2 separate regions of the Homo sapiens genome follow, and region 1 is linked to region 2. Evidence: promoter capture Hi-C in 16 types of primary human blood cells and fetal thymus (Javierre and others, 2016). All regions are on one chromosome and are shown on one strand. Each heading gives the region's core, a stretch centred on a gene start or on the middle of the fragment in contact. The rest is flanking DNA. Distances are from core to core; before and after follow the strand shown. Region 1 overlaps TTLL5 (tubulin tyrosine ligase like 5). Region 2 holds the start of TGFB3 (transforming growth factor beta 3).

Evidence for each region. The method cuts DNA at HindIII sites, captures the fragments that hold promoters and counts their contacts. A CHiCAGO score of 5 or more calls a contact.
Region 1: a fragment that was not itself captured here is called in contact with the fragment with the promoter of TGFB3 in region 2 in 2 of 17 cell types (naive B cells and total B cells); the score reaches 8.2 in naive B cells.

What each region holds. Positions count from the first base shown.
Region 1 is chr14:75,909,828-75,912,527 of GRCh38, reverse strand. All of the region lies in intron 31 of TTLL5 (tubulin tyrosine ligase like 5), which reads right to left. Among named protein-coding and RNA genes, the nearest start is that of TGFB3, 71 kb to the left of the region's middle. The HindIII fragment of the contact is 1,063 bases long and covers 826-1,888 here.
Region 2 is chr14:75,980,745-75,983,444 of GRCh38, reverse strand. TGFB3 (transforming growth factor beta 3) reads left to right here and starts at 1,450. Exons shown (of 7, transcript NM_003239.5): 1 at 1,450-2,700. The coding sequence starts at 2,552. RefSeq lists silencers at 656-775, 906-1,145 and an enhancer at 816-875. The HindIII fragment of the contact is 14,571 bases long and covers 1-2,700 here.

The sequences.
Region 1 (2,700 bases), core at 108-2,607, 71 kb after region 2:
TATCTTGTTTTTTGGCCCTGACTTTCCCTTTATACCTTGTTATTTTATTGCATGTGGTTTTATATTTTAAGACCCTATGCTGGACATGAAAAGGCTATGCTGTACCTGCCTAGCTACAATCCCATCTGAAAAAATGGTCAGACATGCATACATTGGCAGCTTTGTATCACACAATCATACTACCCTAGTACCAGGCTGGCATCTGTCTGGAAGGCAGCTGCCACCCACTTTATTTAGGCCAGTTAAGGCCTGGGAGAGAGAGCTCTGCCCACCAGGGGCACTTTGCTGGAGGAATGAATGAGAAGTATTCCATTCTGTCTTCTGAAAACTGAATGTAAAAAAAAAAAAGGAGAGAAACAATCCCATAGAGAGAGTCACGTCATGAGTAGGGCGGAGCTGTCAGCCTAGACAACAATGGAAGCTGGCTGCGGAGGAGCCAGCAAATGACCTGGCCACGGGATGGGCTAACCCGAGCTGCTGTTCAGCCAGTAAAGCTGCTGATTCTCTCAGCAACGCTGCAGGTTTTCAGGAGGTCTGGCTCTTGAGACTGATTCCTCCCTGTGCTCATGTACAACAACTTCCCTTCCAGAGGTGAACTGAGGGTCTCTCTCCTCTCGATCATCAGAAGGCTCTTGTGGTAATAATAAGAATAAATGTACACATGTACGATGATGATTAATTTTGGAGAATACTAAAAAGGAAGAATAAATATAAAACAGAAGGCCTGTGAGCGGTCATTTTTCTGAGTTGTGATTTTGAAAATTCCATATTCCAGTATCTGATTAAAAACTATCAATAATTTATTGCCTAATATAATTTGAAGCTTAGGCATAAGTTAAAAAACTCTCCTGTCAAATTCCAAAATATCTTCATTTGGGCTTGTCACAAGTCTTAATTTCCCTGGGAATCAAATTACAAATAAATAAAAAGGGAAGGAAAATACCTCACTCTCACTTTTCAGTTCATTAGATATTAAAATAAGAGTGATTCTTCTAACCAACACCAAACAACTAAATGATACATACAGCAACTTCTAAGCAGCTGCTTTTTCTTCACCTCATCATCTTAAAATCAGGTTGGTTTTCTAACTTCTTTCCCCATTTTATAATGGGGATAGAGGCTATGTTTTATTATAGCGAAGGCAAGTCCACACATTCAAGCTACTCCTCTCTGGTATCAACTAACTGCATAACCAGACTGGGCGCGGTGGCTCATGCCTGTAATCCTAGCACTTTGGGAGGCCAAGGTGGGCAAATCGCTTGAGGTCAGGAGTTCGAGGCCAGCCGGGCCAACATGGTGAAACACTGTCTCTACTAAAAATTAAAAAAAAAAATTAGCCATGCATGGTGGCGCATGCCGGTAATCCCAGCTACTCGGGAGGCGAAGGCTCGAGAGTTGTTTGGACCTGGGAGGCGGAAGTTGCAGTGAGCTGAGATCATGCCGCTGCACTCCAGTCTGGCTGGGTGACAGAGCGAGACTCTGACTCAAAAAAACAAAAACAAAAACAAAAGCAACCAACCACCCACCCCCCAACAACAAAAAAACCCTGCATTCAAGTTTTAAGAGAAGGGAGCCCCTTGACATCTATGGTGCAAACTGGAAATACCTGCATGTTCAAAAGACGAGAACAAAGAAGTATAAGAGACTACTGTTTTAGTTTTAGTAATGCTCTTCATTTTGAGGACTTAAGAGAATCTGAGTCTTTTTCTTTATAATCACAATTTGAAAGAATACAGGATAAAAATCAATACAAATCATGCCAACAGGGCAATACACTTCAAGTCATCATTCTCCAAGCCCTGCTATTATCTACCTACACTTTTTGGGACCTGGTTCAAACTCTACAGATCAGGTAAGCAGAGGTGTAAATATTTCCGTGTGGAAAGCTTGCTTTTTCCAAAGACAGGCGTGGCTTAGCATGTCATTTTCTTTCTTTAGAACTTTCAGGAGCAATTATGCCCTGAGGATATGAGGACAATAAAGCAAAGGTATGTGGCTATAAGATGTGTGGGTTCACAGGATGGATAACCACAGTGAACAGATCGATAACCTGGAGTGATATATATAAAGACAGAAAGAAGGGCAGCCTTATGCTGGTTACTTGCCCAGTTCAGGACTGCAAGAATAGACTAGATCGTCTTCTGTCCAAAGTGCATGGATATTACACAGGACCACACAACTCTGCAGCAAGATGTAGGAGTAGGCACAATTCTAACAATCCAGGCTGCCAGGCATTTTTTTCCAAGAGGTGTGTGTGCTTCTGTAATGTAAGTGTAATTTGAGAAAGGGGCCACTGTACTTCCCGTGTCTCTTTATAACAAAGTAGTAATTGTTAATAACTGAAGAATCATCACTCCTCTCTTGGGATTTTGCCAGTTCAGCAAGAAAAAAATATCAATTTTCAGATGTTATCTTCCTCCATAGCCTATCTCTTAATCCATTTTAGAAATGGAGTTCTCTGGTTTTCTTCAAGGCCAATGAACCCCTTTTGGATAGATTCTTAGAAGTACCCCTATTCTCTCCCCCAAACTAAAAGCCAGGCTGTCTTCTTCCTCACTTCCAACCAGGTTGTTCAGCTATACTTGGGTTTTGTTTCTGAATGTAGAAACAGTTACTAAATGAAATGCAAGAGGCCTCAGGACAGGAACGCATGCACTTCAATGGCTGACAGCCAGGTGATTCTGCCATGTAGAGGGATCC
Region 2 (2,700 bases), core at 201-2,700:
GTCCAGAATCTGGCAACGTCCTGGGTCCAAATCCCAACAGCTGACACCTAATAACTATGTGACCTTGGGCAAGTTACTTTTAAAGTTTCTACCCCTAGGTTTCCCATTGGTTTTGCAAATGAAAGTAATGCCTACCCAAGCTAGATAGCCTGTGTAAAATATCGCCTCCATCACTCACAAGCAGTGTGGTCTGTAAAAAAAAAAACAAAAAACTCTATGCCTCAGTTTCCTCATCCGTAAAGTGACCCACCGCTGTGCTGGGATACAGAGAACAGCCCCTTCAGTTAGTGGCCTGGAAGCCAGACCTCTCAGAAAGGGTCCAGGAAGGCTGGAGTGAGATGGGGTGGGAGCGGCACTCACTCTCAGGAAAGTTCAGTTCAGAGGCAAGCCCTGTGTTGCGGGGTGCGGGGAGCCACGTGCCCTACCCTCCCTTGGCTGCTCGTGGGAAAAGGCCTAGAGGTTCGGGCCGAGAAGAGGAGCGAAAGCACAGAGCCGACTTCCCCTCACCCATCTGGGAAATGGGCTCGGGCCAACTGCTGACTTCGCGCTCGCTGGCGCAGCTCCCTGCGGAGACCTCGGCGGGGAGGGAGGCTGAACATCTGGATGACATTTCTGCGAGAGCGGCTCCGGAGCGGCGGTCGGGGAGGGAGAGGTGCGCTCGTGCGCACGTCGGGCCGGGAGGGAGGCGATTCCTCGGGGCCTGGGTCTTGTTTTTCTCGCTCTCTACCGCAGCCCCTTCTCCCGCCCCTCAGCCCCCACCCCGCAGCCCCCAGCCCCCGAGCCTCCCCGGCTCCCGACCAGCCGAGCTCCTTCACTGGCGGCCTCGCCTCGCCAGAGGGCACCCTCGATCTTCCGGAAAACGCCACCATTTTTCACTGCCCCTGGAGCGTCTCCAGGCTTCTGCCCGCCTCCCGACTCCGATCTTGTCAATGAAGAATCGGGCCAGGATCGCCGCGGAGCGGACGCCGACCCTCCGACCCGGCTCGCAGGCTGGGAGTCCCCTCTGCGAGGCTGGCATGGCCGCCCCTACCGGGTCCCGCGCCCTCTGCGGACCCTGCCCCGGGTTGGGCCTGGCCCGCGGGCGGCCCCGGGACCGGGGGACCAGGAGGGAGAGTAGACGCGGGCCGCGGACGGCGCGGACTGACAGCTGGCGAGAGGGCGCCGGGGCTGGGGGAAAGGGAGGGAGGGGGCTCATCGGAGTAACTTTCCAGAAAAACAGCCAACGTGTGGCAGGAGTGATTCCAAGAGGGGAAAAAAAGTTCAGCTACCACGTCGAACGAGAGGACTCGCAAAGTATTTTTCAAAAGGGCTCGGCTTTTCCTGTGCCTGTTTAAAACATTAACATCGTGCAGCAAAAGAGGCTGCGTGCGCTGGTCCCTCCCTCCCCCACCCCAGGCCAGAGACGTCATGGGAGGGAGGTATAAAATTTCAGCAGAGAGAAATAGAGAAAGCAGTGTGTGTGCATGTGTGTGTGTGTGAGAGAGAGAGGGAGAGGAGCGAGAGGGAGAGGGAGAGGGAGAGAGAGAAAGGGAGGGAAGCAGAGAGTCAAGTCCAAGGGAATGAGCGAGAGAGGCAGAGACAGGGGAAGAGGCGTGCGAGAGAAGGAATAACAGCTTTCCGGAGCAGGCGTGCCGTGAACTGGCTTCTATTTTATTTTATTTTTTTCTCCTTTTTATTTTTTAAAGAGAAGCAGGGGACAGAAGCAATGGCCGAGGCAGAAGACAAGCCGAGGTGCTGGTGACCCTGGGCGTCTGAGTGGATGATTGGGGCTGCTGCGCTCAGAGGCCTGCCTCCCTGCCTTCCAATGCATATAACCCCACACCCCAGCCAATGAAGACGAGAGGCAGCGTGAACAAAGTCATTTAGAAAGCCCCCGAGGAAGTGTAAACAAAAGAGAAAGCATGAATGGAGTGCCTGAGAGACAAGTGTGTCCTGTACTGCCCCCACCTTTAGCTGGGCCAGCAACTGCCCGGCCCTGCTTCTCCCCACCTACTCACTGGTGATCTTTTTTTTTTTACTTTTTTTTCCCTTTTCTTTTCCATTCTCTTTTCTTATTTTCTTTCAAGGCAAGGCAAGGATTTTGATTTTGGGACCCAGCCATGGTCCTTCTGCTTCTTCTTTAAAATACCCACTTTCTCCCCATCGCCAAGCGGCGTTTGGCAATATCAGATATCCACTCTATTTATTTTTACCTAAGGAAAAACTCCAGCTCCCTTCCCACTCCCAGCTGCCTTGCCACCCCTCCCAGCCCTCTGCTTGCCCTCCACCTGGCCTGCTGGGAGTCAGAGCCCAGCAAAACCTGTTTAGACACATGGACAAGAATCCCAGCGCTACAAGGCACACAGTCCGCTTCTTCGTCCTCAGGGTTGCCAGCGCTTCCTGGAAGTCCTGAAGCTCTCGCAGTGCAGTGAGTTCATGCACCTTCTTGCCAAGCCTCAGTCTTTGGGATCTGGGGAGGCCGCCTGGTTTTCCTCCCTCCTTCTGCACGTCTGCTGGGGTCTCTTCCTCTCCAGGCCTTGCCGTCCCCCTGGCCTCTCTTCCCAGCTCACACATGAAGATGCACTTGCAAAGGGCTCTGGTGGTCCTGGCCCTGCTGAACTTTGCCACGGTCAGCCTCTCTCTGTCCACTTGCACCACCTTGGACTTCGGCCACATCAAGAAGAAGAGGGTGGAAGCCATTAGGGGACAGATCTTGAGCAA